Linked DNA regions of Homo sapiens: region 1 is linked to region 2. The links are contacts of gene promoters, found by promoter capture Hi-C in blood cells and fetal thymus (Javierre and others, 2016). All regions are on one chromosome and are shown on one strand. Each heading gives the region's core, a stretch centred on a gene start or on the middle of the fragment in contact. The rest is flanking DNA. Distances are from core to core; before and after follow the strand shown. Region 1 has its middle 36 kb from the start of AHCYL1. Region 2 holds the start of GNAT2 (G protein subunit alpha transducin 2).

Region 1 (6,099 bases), core at 281-2,780, 330 kb after region 2:
CCAATTGCAGCTTCTGCCATCACATTGCCTTCTCTTCTGTGGGGAGATCTCCCCCTGCCTTCCTCTTATAAGGACTCTTCTGATCACCTTTAGGGCCCACCTGGGTAAGATGGCATTCCTAGTTTCCAGACACGAGGACCTGGATCTGTTTGGGAGACATTATTCAGCCTACCGCAATTATTATTACACCAACAATTTACCTATTATTTGTATATTTATCTGTATCTCCAGTACACTGTGAGCAACTTGAAGACTAAGACTGTACCTTATCTACCTCTCTATTCTCGTCTCCTAACATGGCTCCTCAGATACAGTAGGTGCTTAATAAATAATGATTGTGTGAATGAACAATCCCATACTTACAGACTTCTATTGCTTGTGCCTTAGGGAGCATCACAGCACAACATTCCAAAGAAATCTAAAGCTAACTTTTTTTTTAAAGCCTTAAAATAAATGTCAGTCTTTAGCACAATTATCTTGGGACATAGAGGAGAAGATTATACAACACATTGCACAGCAAAGCTTCCGAAAAATGCCCTGAAGACATTTCTTCCCTCCTCCAGACCCCTTCACTTAGTCCCTGCACTTGCCCGCCCATCCACTGCCTCAGCCAGCGAAATCTGTAACTTTTCCCAGGGAAAATGCACAAGCATCAGGATTTAATTTTGACACTACCCACTCTCAACCAATGGGCAGGCAATCAGCAGGAAGAAAAAAAAAAAAGCACTATCTACTTCCTAAATTCTTGGATGTGTTTCTCAATCTGTCTCTCACACAGTGAGGTCTTCAAGGCACCCGTGGTCTAGTGCCCAATGACCCCATGACTCCATTTGGGACCAGTCCTGCCTCACTCGAAGCAATTCAAGGAGAACTGCCTCTAGCCAGGGTCCCAAGGCTGACTGTGAGACGGCCTCTGGTGAGGGGAGAAACCTGCCTGGTAGCCCAACTGAGACCTGAAGGCTTAGGGCATCCAACCTTCCCACGCCAGCCTAGCATCTCCAGTGTAAATAACTTGAAGGCTTTCTTTCTTCCTCCTCCCAGATCCTCACTGTTTTGGGTAGCTCTTGGTTATAAATTCCTGATGCTTCTATCTGATCCAAACTTTCTTATTCTCTGAGCTGTGCTCCCAGGCACTTTGCTGCATGGCAAGATAACCTTAGTACAAAATAATGATAGGAGCTTGCAGTTAATGAGAATCCCAATGTGGGAGCTTTCCCTGTTTTGTTGCACCTAAACCTCACTGCATCCCTAAGAGGAAGGTGCTGTTGTTAAACTGAGCCACAGGCGTGTAAGTGACTTGCCCAAGGTCACACAGCTAATAAATGGTAGAGTCAAAATTCAAAGCCAGGGCTGGGTGTGGTGGCTCACACCTGTAATCCCAGCACTTTGGGAGGCCAAGGCGGGTGGATCACCTGAGGTCAGGAGTTCCAGACCAGTCTGGCCAACGTAGTGAAACCCCTTCTCTACTAAAAATCCAAAAATTAGGTGGGCATGGTGGTGCACACCCGTAATCCCAGCTACGCGGGAAGCTGAGGCAGGGGGAATTGCTTGAATCCAGGAGATGGAGGTTGCAGTGAGCCAAGATCATGCCACTGCACTTGAGCCTGGGTGACAGAGTGAGACTACATCTAAAAAAAAAAAAAAAAAAAAAAAAAAAAAAGAATTCAAACCCAGGCAGTCTGGCATGGCATGCAGGTAGGCAAAACATCTCATCTTCCTGTTTACCTGCATTATGAGTTGGACAAATAAATTGTAGCTCCTCTCCGTCTTGCCATGTTTCCTGTTTAGAACTTTCAGGCATCCCGTGGCATTTACAGAAGGCTCTGGGTTCACACAGGCGAAATTCCCTCACAATGGATCTTTACTCTGGAATTTTCCCGTCCCAAGGCCTGCCACTCCTGCAGCCTTAGAAGGCACTTCCTCCCTGGTCCCATGCTCCCTGCGAAGTTCTCTACTTTCCAGGAGCGTGGCTTACAGCTTCCTCCTTTGGGCACCCAGTTCCTAATGAAACTGAACCTTTCAGTCCTGCCTGCCTGGGCACCCTCCTCTCTTCATCTTACTGCAGGACAAGTGTGTCCATGAGGCCGAGTTAATAGCGTCCATGAAGTGAAATGAAATCGTTACTTCAAGCCTCAAGCCTCACCAGGGAGTTTCTTAGACTTTTCAATCTGGCAGGTTGGCATAACCCTGTGTAAGAGGATTCTTCACCTAGTACAGTAAGTTCTGGGCAGCGCATTGTTCCAAAGATTAGAATTCTGATCTCAGGGGTGACCTCTCTTGGCTTTATTACAGAAAAATCACACTTCAACATCTCAGGTGGTAGCACTGCTGTGTTGACATTCACATTCTTTCATGTTAAAAAAAGTCCCCAGATTTTCATTCTTAATTGTCCAGTGTGTTATTATAAGAAAAGTTGCTTAGAATTTCCTCTATTATTTGGCACCTGAGTCATTTTCAAGTTTCACTTTTTTACACAGTATGAAACAGATTGATTTTTTTTTGTTTGCTTAATTTTTGGTTTATTTACTTCCTTGTAGATAAGCTTCCAAAAACAGAATAAATACTCCAAAAGATATGAGCATTTTTACTGCCTTTGATGCATATCCTTTTATTGTTTAAGAGATTGCACAAGTTCACATTATCACCAGCAACATATAAGTACCTGTTTCCCCACAGTTCTGTTAACATGGGATTTATTACTTTTACTAGCTTTTTGCTAGTCTAATAGTTCTAGAATGATATGTTAAAGTTGTTTAAATGGGCTTCTCTTTATTACTTTCAAGGCTGTATTTTTTTATGTGATAATTGTTCTTCCTTTTTGGGGGGAATAAACTGTTCCTCTCCTTTGACAATTTACAGAGTAGAATCCAGACACAAGCCAGTATTTTCTCCATCTATTGTTTTCTACTTGGGGATAAGCTTTTAATATTTGTCACATCTTTTATTTCTATAGCATAGTCTTGTATGTAGCTGCTGTAAAGTTCAGAGTAATCTTTATATATTTGGCCAGGTGTGGTGGCTCACGCCTGTAATCCCAGCAGTTTGGGAGGGTGAGGCGGGCAGATCATTTGAGGTCAGTAGTTCGAGACCAGGCTGGCCAACATGGTGAAACCCCATCTCTTCAAAAAAATATGAAAGTTAGCTGGGCGTGGTGGTATGTACCTTTAGTCCCAGCTACTTCTGGGGCTGAGGCAGGAGGATCGCTTGAACCCAGGAGGTCAAGCCTGCAGTGAACGAAGATTGTGCCACTACACTCCAGCCTGAGGGACAAAGTGAGACCCTGTCTAAATAACAATAATAATAATAATAATATATGTTTATATTTCTCTACCTTGTCCTTAATAAATTTTTTTCATTTCTTCAATAGTCAGACATTTACGACCCCTTCAAACATGAGATAACCATGTTATTTTTCCCATTTAAAAAAATACTAAGCTGGGTGCGTTGGCTCACGCCTGTAACCCCAGCACTTTGGGAGGCCGAGGCTGGCAGATCGCTTGAGGTAGGGAGTTCAACACCAGCCTGGCCAACATGGTGAAACCCCCTCTCTACTAAAAATACAAAAATTAGCAGGGTGTGGTGGTACATGTCTGTAATCCCAGCTACTTGGGAGGCTGAGGCAGGAGAATCACTTGAACCCAGGAGTGAGAGGTTGCAGTGAGCCGAGATCACGCCACTGCACTCCAGCCTGGGTGACAGAGTGAGACTCCGTCTTAAACAAACAAACAAACAAACAAACAAAAACTGGTGTAGGTTTTACTCTAATCATCTGAAATTTATATTATTATTATTATTTTTTTTTTTGAGACAGGGTCTCACTCTGTTGCCCAGGCTCAAGCGAAGTGGCATGGTCTTGGCCTCACTGCAGCCTCGACCTCCTGGGCTCAAGTGATCCTTCCACCTCAGTCTCCTGAGTAGCTGTGGTTACAGATATGTGCCACCATGCCTGGCTAATTCTTGTATTTTTTTTTTGTAGAGATGGGGTTTTACTATGTTGCCCAGGCTGGTCTTGAACTCCTGAACTCAAGCAATCTGCCTGCCTAGGCCTCCAAAATTGCTGGGATTACAGGCCTGAGCCACGATGCCTGGCTGTATTATTATACATAATGCCATGTATTACTCTAAGATATTAAATTCCCTTTTTATTGTTTCATTGCTCAAACAATTAGCAAGCAATGAACTCTTTCTGCCTTGTGTTACTTCTGCTTTGTCATAAATTAAGTTTATAAAATAGAATAGCAGTGCCACAGGAATTTCTGTTCTATCTCATTCATTCATTCATTCATTCAACAAATATGTGTTAAGCACCTACTATGTGCCAGGTACCATTCTGGGTGCGAAGGATACAGCTGTTAACAAAACAAACATCCCTGCCCTCATGGAGCTATATCATTCTGGTGGTGGTGGAGACAATTTAAAAATAGATAACAGATGGATAAATAAATAATAAATAAGACAGGAAAAAGTGATAGGGAGCCTGGCATGGGAATGAAAAGTTGAACTTTTCTCTGGGAATCTTAAGGAGGACCTCATTGAGAAGATGCTGTTTTAGCAAAGCCCAAAGGAGGGGAGGGAACAAGTATGCAAATATGTGGGAGAAAAAAGGGTTCCAGACAGAAGCGCAAGTATAAAGGAACATCAAATTTTGTGACCTGGAAAGTGCCTAATGCATTCAGGCCTAGTGAGAGGCCAAGGTGACTGCAGTGGAATAAGTGACAGACAGAACAGGAGAGGTGACCAGACATGGAAGGGCGAGAGCAGATCTTGCAGGGCCAGGTCATGCATTGTAAGGACTGTGGTGTTTACTCAGAGGCAGATGAGAAGTCTAGGATGGTTTTGCACAAAGGAAAGGCAGGATCTGACTTAGCTTATCAGTGCCACCCTGGCTGTGGTGCTAAGAAAGTTTTGATCAATGTACTTTTTGTAATACATTTTAAATCCTGTGAAAGCCCTACTTTTTTTGTATCTTTTCTTATTTTCTAAGATTGTTATCTATTATTCTGCTTCTGTAATTATTTTGTAAGGCCTTAAACTGGTACTACATGAAATCTATTAACTTTGAAACACTGTCACATTTATTATATATGTATTTTTCCAATAATAATCTGGTGTATCTCTCCACTTATTCATATCCTCCTTTACTTTTACTGCTATAGTTTAGTAACTTTCTTGGAATAAATCTTGTGGCTTAAAGAAAATCCTCAAGCAAATTTATTTTTGGTTCGTGGTTATGAATGGAATCTTTCTCTCTTTTATTTTATGTTTTTATTAATATGCAGCTATATTTCACTGACAGAAACGCAATTGTTCTATGTGGGTTTCTTTTGGCTCACATCTTTGCTAAATTCATGTATTATTTATAGTAATTTAGGGGATACTATTCTTGGAACATTCAGATAAATAATCACGTCAACTGGAGTAGTATTTTTTACCCTAATTGTTTTTTTCGGTTTTTTTTTTTTTTTTTTTAAGATGGAGTCTCGCTCTGTTGCCCAGGCTGGAGTGCAGTGGCATGATCTTGGCTCACTGTAACCTTCGCCTCCCAGGTTCAAGCAATTCTTTGCCTCAGCCTCCGGAGTAGCTGGGATTACAGGCGCCCACCACCATGCCTGGCTAATTTTTTGTATTTTTAGTAGAGATGGGGTTTCACCATCTTGTCCAGGTTGGTCTTGAACTCCTGACCTCGTGATACACTCACCTCGGCCTCCCAAAGTGCTGGGATTACAGGCGTAAGCCACTGCACCTGGCCTACCCTAATTATTTATGCCTTTCCCAAACAGCTATTGTCAGCATTTCTAGTACCACATTGAGAAAAACAGACATGGGTGAACCTTCTGTTCTGTTTTCCAGAGAAGCAAGTCTCGTGCATCTCCAATAAGTATGACATTGGTTCTTCAGATTAAGTACATTTTGTTCTTCTTATTTGAGAATAAAAATATCTGCATCTAATTGCAAAGATTTAATAAGGAATACATATTAAACTTTACTGACTGTCTTTTGAACAAGTATTAAAAATATAATTTGCTTAAAAATTGCTTTTCTTTTTCATTTACCATTTAATTTTCCCTATTTTCTCTCTTTTGAAAATTAGCTAGTTAA
Region 2 (6,057 bases), core at 921-3,420:
AGGCCTCAGTGTGAAAAAAGCCCAGGCCATAGGATGACTCACTCCTTTATTTCCCAAGCTCTGTTCTGCGTAGACAATGAAACCTCACTGAGATTCTTGCTGGTATGGAGTGGGTGGAGGGATTGATGCCTAACTATAATCAGGGCCGACTTCCTAGCAGCAACAATACACCAGATGACCTGGAAATAGGGGAGGGTTGTAGAGTGAAGGGTGTGTTGCAGATGGGACTAGGGGACTAGCATAAAGGGACTAATGAACTGGTTTGCCTGGGCTGGGTGGAGGGCAAGGATTGCCACCTATTGGCTGCTGAGGTAGGTAGGTCTGCATTAAGCAGGATGCTCAAGAGACCTGGCCCAATGCAAGATACTATCTTTAAAACTATGTCAACATTTGCATCTTATCAGAAGATACATGACATTTATGTAGTTACATGGTGCTTGATTTTTGAGATTCATTTTATTCATTCTTGAGAGTCCATCAGCCTCAAAATCCCTAAGCGCCCCAAGACCAATTCAGTGGGCCATAAATGTAAACAGAATAGTTTAAGTCTGGGGTTAAGACCCCGGGAAGGCTGGGTTGGGGGGACTGTGGAGGCAATTACAGATTTTTACAGATTTTTGTTGATTTCTATCCCCTTGATTATAAAAGTTATGGGTATGTATTATAATTTCTAAAATGCAAATAAATATAAAGAAAATAAATATAACCCATAATTCCATCACTACAGATAATCATTGGTAAACTTGTTGGTGTGTTTCTTTTCTACCCATGTATATCACATAAGTAGGACCATACTGTGTATAGTGTTTTGCATCCATTCTTTTACCTAACTTTATATTGTAAACATTTCCACATCATTAAACATTTCTCCAAGAACAATTTTTAATGGCTGTATTTCATGGTATGAATATTACATAAACATTCCCCTATTGTTCGACCTTTAAAGTATCTAACTTTTCTATGCAATACACATTGTGGTGCTGAACAACTTTTTGCATACATATTTTTCTGGCAGCTCTTTTTAGAAAAACAACTTCCAGAAAGTTGATTACTGGGTCAAATAATAAGAACCTTTTTGAAAATTTTGATTCTATATTACCAGATGGCTTTCAGAAAGATTATATCAGTGTTCAAGGCCACCAGTAATGTGTTTGTGCACATGTACGTGTGTGTGTGTCTCCCATCTCACTAACTATACCCTTGCCAACCTGCATTAGCGTTTATTTTTTGGTTTTTTGTTTTTTAGTCTTTGCTATTTTGATTAGGTAAACCTGGTTATCTCTGTTCTCTTTTTAGTTTTATGGATTCTGTGTGAGGTGAAGAGGCCAAGTTTTTTTTAAGTTTGTTCAGGGAACAGTAGCCAGGGATCAATGGAAGTGGCACCAGATGCAGGTGGAGAAAAGGGTTCAGGGTCCAGAATCCAGCGTGGGGAGAGAAGAGGGAGGCAGAGTTTGGGAAGGATCTCTGCTGTGGGAGTGGTAAGAACTGGGAGGAGCCAGACAAACAGCATTAGAACAACTGGGTGTGGGGGGCAAAGGCCTCCCACAAGAGGGAAAATAGGGAAGAGATTAATTCCTGCTAATGCATTTAATTATATTCAGTGAAGTCTTAGGGACTTCCCTCCACAAGTTCCCTTTAGGTCGGATTATCTACCCCTTGGCAGTGGGGATGCTTGTTGGATAGACCCCAGAACGGCTGCAAGTGAATCAACCTGTGAGTGTCAATAGAGAACCAAGGCCAAGGCTAAAGCAATGGTAATACATGAATACTGAGTACTAACTACAGGCCAGGCACAGTTCTAAGCAGTTAACTTATATTAACTCATTTATCTTAACCACCATATAAAGCAGGTACTCTTACACTCATTTTACAGACGAAATAGAAGCACAGAGAAGTTAGGTAACTTGCCCAGTATCAGTCAGGAAGTAGGTGAAATCTGGATTTGAACCCAGACATTCTGGCTAGAGTTAAAGCTCTTAACCACCAAATACAGAAATGTGGGAAGGGGAGCCAGAATTGCAGGGCACAGCCTCCTACCTACGCCGGCCGGAAGAAAACAGACGACCAAGTGAGATTGCAGGGGCAGGACTTCTGCTTAAAATGAATCCTGGGACAATGATAACAGCTACCTTTCACTGGGCCCTCACTTCGTGCCAGGCACTGTGTAAAGGGACTTTACGTTTAATCTTCACAGTAACCCCTTTGAGTGAGGTACTGTCATTACCCCATCTTACTGATGAGGAAGCTGACGCACGGAACTGGCCCAAGACCCAGGGTCGGCTCAGGCCAGCCCTACCGCGGTGTGGTGGCTGCCCACGTGGCGCCCAGGAAGAGAAAAAAATGGCGAGGCGGGGTCGGCAGGCGGAGGCGGGGCCAGGCGGGGGCGGGGCCAAGGGCCGCAGAGCCTGGCGCGGAGCCGGCGAGATTTTGGTGGGGTCTCACCTGTTGCGTGACTCCCCCACAGTCCGGCCGCGGGAGTCCGACCCTGAATGCCCAGGGAGTGTTGAGAGAAATCTGGACGAGTTTCGGGTCCCGCTCCCTTGGGAGCACGTGGCCTACCAGCCTCTCGATTGCAGGGTTGGGTGGTCGCGACACCGGGGTCGCCTTGAGGCCAGTCCGGCTGCCGAGGTCTGCGGGAGTCCACCTCCGGCCAGCTGGCAATTTTGAAAGACTGCCTTACTTTCCCCATCTCAGTGCCAGGGCAGGGGCCCTTGGAGTGACTTGGCTGGGGTCTGTGGCCCGATCCCCCTGCCGTCCCTCAGGACCCGGGCTTTCTGCTGTACAGACTTCTCGTGGGCAGCCTCCCCTCGGAACTCGGGCATCATGGCCTCAGGTGAGTGTGTGTACGTGTGTTGGAGGGAGGGTCTCTGGGACAGAGAAGTGCTGTGGCCAGAGTGACAAGAGGGTGGGAGTCACAGCACAGCAGCAGGACCTAGGGAAGGCGGTCAGCTCCTCCCAGGAGGGCCTGGGGAGCAGAGCCAGAGTGTGCAGAGACAGAGGAAAAATCCAAAGAGGCTAGGGTCTCTGTCCCAGACCCCCAGACAAGGGGGTCTCCTGGCCTTCCTGCCTTCCTGGGAGGTAGCTATTTGGCGACGGTGGAATTTTCCCGGGACAGGCCCCTCCCTCCTGGGCTGGGATTCTCGGTTCTTCCCCCTCCTCCCAGAGCTGGGCTACCCCGGGAGCTGAGGGTCAGATGTGGAAGGAAAGTGGGTGCTGGGTTTTCACGGAGTATGCCTGCCCTGCCCCGGGAGGACTGTGTTTGAGCTTGGACTCGCTCGCTGCTGAATTCCTGTTTGTTATTCTTTTTTCTTCCAGGCTAGCTGGAAGGACCAGCTAGCCTGGACTTTGGCTTCTTTGCCCGGGAGCCCTGGCATGATGGGGTGAGGGCTCTTGGTGGGTTAGTGGAGAGCTGGGGGCTGGCCCTTCCCCATCTTCTTTTCTACCCACCCCCTCCCCGCCCCCCGCCAGGCCCAGCCACCATCAGTCACGTCACTCCTGGGACTGAGGAGGCAGGGGAGGGATAAGGGGCAGAGATGGAGGCCCCACTCCCCGAGGTTGCCTAGACAACATGAGAAATCGTGGCCAGGGCCTCTTCCGCCTGCGGAGCCGCTGCTTCCTGCATCAGTCACTCCCGCTGGGGGCGGGGCGGAGGAAGGGGTTGGATGTGGCAGAGCCAGGCCCCAGCCGGTGCCGCTCAGACTCCCCCGCTGTCGCCGCCGTGGTCCCAGCCATGGCATCCTATCCATCTGGCTCTGGCAAGCCCAAGGCCAAATATCCCTTTAAGAAGCGGGCCAGCCTGCAGGCCTCCACTGCAGCTCCAGGTGAGTGTGTGCTTCCTGGCCTCAGGATAGATGCTGGGCTCTGTCTTGCCACCTCTCGCCCAAGGTGCTGGTCCCCTCAGAGGGGGCCACCTCCTCCGGCATCCTCTCTGTGGTGGTGCCCCTCAACCTCAGTCCCAGGGACAGCCGGCTTGGAAGGTGGGGTGAGGGGTGGTGGGGGGCGGGGGGTGGATCTGAGATATCTGTGCCAGGGATGCTGTCCTCTGTCACAAGGAGTGGGCATGGTGTGGGTGCAGCAAGAGGTGTGTATGCACACGTGTCAGCGTGTGCATGTGCTAAGACTGCGTGTGAAGCATGTGTGAATGGAGCGGGGGTGTGTGGGACTGACTGTTTTGTGGACTGGCCACTCTGACTGGCGCCTGTGCCTTTACCAGGCAGGCTTAGGCTGTTCTGTGGCTAGTTCCACTTTTTAGGACCCCACATCTAGATCCCCCTCACTGGGGGTCTGACATCTGGGCACAACCATTGCTGGCTGGCATCCCACAACTGGGGGCTTGACTGTATCTATCGTTTGCTATTTGCTCATTCCTGGTCTATATTGTGAGCCTCCTTAGGAGTATGGGGTGTCCTTGGTCAGGTCCGTGCAGGGTTCAGGCTGGGGCTGCTGCCCGCACTGTGTGTGCTTCTGCACCCTTTGGTTCGTCTCTCACTCTAGTAAGCATCTCTGCATCATTTGGAGCAGGCAGTGAGGTGCGGCAGTGCCTGTCTCAGTGAGGGCTTGGCTGCCTGGCTCTGTGCTTGCAGAGGGATATCTGCCTGCTGTCTGCTCCCAGGCCTTGTGGCTAAGGAAAGACCCACCCTGACTTTGATGACCAGATCATGCCGACTGCCCCCACCCTTGCAGCTGTCTGTAGCTATAGCCCAAGTATCAACCTCCTATATTTTTTTGTTTCATTGAAGATGACTGGTGCAAGGTCTCTACTGTCCTGAGGGTGTTCTCTGTGCCCAGGTCTGTGCCATCCAGAAAGGGTGTCCCCTGGGTGGGGCCCTTCCTGGCCCTGTTTGGTTCAGCAATAGGGCAACTGATACGGATCTAGCCCAGAGCTGGAGACCCTTCGGTGGTCAGATGGTAAGAGCATCTGATACTTGTGGGGTCAAAGCCGTGGACACCCCTGTGCCTACTGAGGCAGTCGTGGCAGTGTGTGAGGGGCTCCTGGTCGAGAGGGGAGATGGGGTGCTCAGAATCTCAGAGTTGGTGGGAGTGGCTCTGGAGCAGCCCACTCTGGCTTTTGCTTGACTTCTCCGTAAGTGTGGGTGTATGTGTGTGGTGCTGACCCCTAGAGAAAGGACCAGTAGGCAGCTGAGTCTTCTAGGCCTGGCCTCTGAGAACGTAGCGGTTACTGCCCGTGTGCCACCTTCAGTGAGCCTGCGGCAGCCCTGGAGAGTGGTCTGGCAGGCTGGGGGGATGGCACTGGCTGTTGGAATCTGTCCTGCTCACCCCAGGATTGCTGTGGAGCCTGAGACCCCCCTGCTAGGAGAGGGGGTTGAGATTTGAGCCTTTGACTCAACTCCTGCTGACCCAATATGAACCAGCCATGGAGGTCTGTGGTCGGCCTCCCCTAGAAGGAGTCAGAAGTGGTCTGGGGCCATATGTAGGGAGGAGGTGTGTAAAATCAGGGTTCTCGGGCAAGAAAAGATCTTACACTCTGGGGGTGAGACAGCTTCCCCTCTTTTCTTCCTCTTCCCACTTTGTCCTTTTCCAAGTAAGAGATAGAGTCACCCCATCTCCACTCCTGCCAAGTTCACTTCACTGCCCTTTACTGGCCTATTGCCTTTGCCCTGCACTGGGCCCAGGGAACCTCCCACTGTCCTCAGTGGGCGGGGCTACAGGTAGAATGTATTTTGAGGGTCCCAGGAGTTCATAATTGCAGGCCTTGCCTCAACACAGAGCCTGGTGTTTTGCAGAACACTTGCAGAGCCATTATCTCTGTGAGCCTTATGGCAGTTGTGGCTAGGCAGGGAAGGGACCACTTATCGCCCCACTTGTAGATGAGGACCCAAAGCCTCCCAGAGGTAGGTAGAGACATGCCCGGAAGCAGGAACAGAATCAGATCCATGTTCTCCAAATTCTAGCCCCCTTTCTCCCAAACTTATTCTGGACAGTTTGTCCTGTCCCTGATGATAGGCTTGGATCAGGGGTTGCAGGTCTAGGGGCCTGCGAACCAGCCCCCTGAGCAGCTGGGCAGCGGGGAAGCCTCAGTGACTGGCCCCTACCTAG

Evidence for each region. The method cuts DNA at HindIII sites, captures the fragments that hold promoters and counts their contacts. A CHiCAGO score of 5 or more calls a contact.
Region 1: a contact is called between a fragment that was not itself captured here and the fragment with the promoter of GNAT2 in region 2, in 1 of 17 cell types (total CD4 T cells). The highest score is 5.1, in total CD4 T cells.

The regions. Positions count from the first base shown.
Region 1 is chr1:109,945,921-109,952,019 of GRCh38, forward strand. No RefSeq gene overlaps it. Among named protein-coding and RNA genes, the nearest start is that of AHCYL1, 36 kb to the right of the region's middle. The HindIII fragment of the contact is 2,020 bases long and covers 521-2,540 here.
Region 2 is chr1:109,617,446-109,623,502 of GRCh38, forward strand. GNAT2 (G protein subunit alpha transducin 2) reads right to left here and starts at 2,171. Exons shown (of 9, transcript NM_001377295.2): 1 at 2,038-2,171. AMPD2 (adenosine monophosphate deaminase 2) reads left to right here and starts at 2,392. Exons shown (of 19, transcript NM_001368809.2): 1 at 2,392-2,833; 2 at 3,469-3,821. The coding sequence starts at 3,731. RefSeq lists enhancers at 1,559-2,089, 2,070-2,119, 2,090-2,618, 3,140-3,189, 3,149-3,677 and 2 more and a silencer at 2,310-2,499. The HindIII fragment of the contact is 17,616 bases long and covers 1-6,057 here.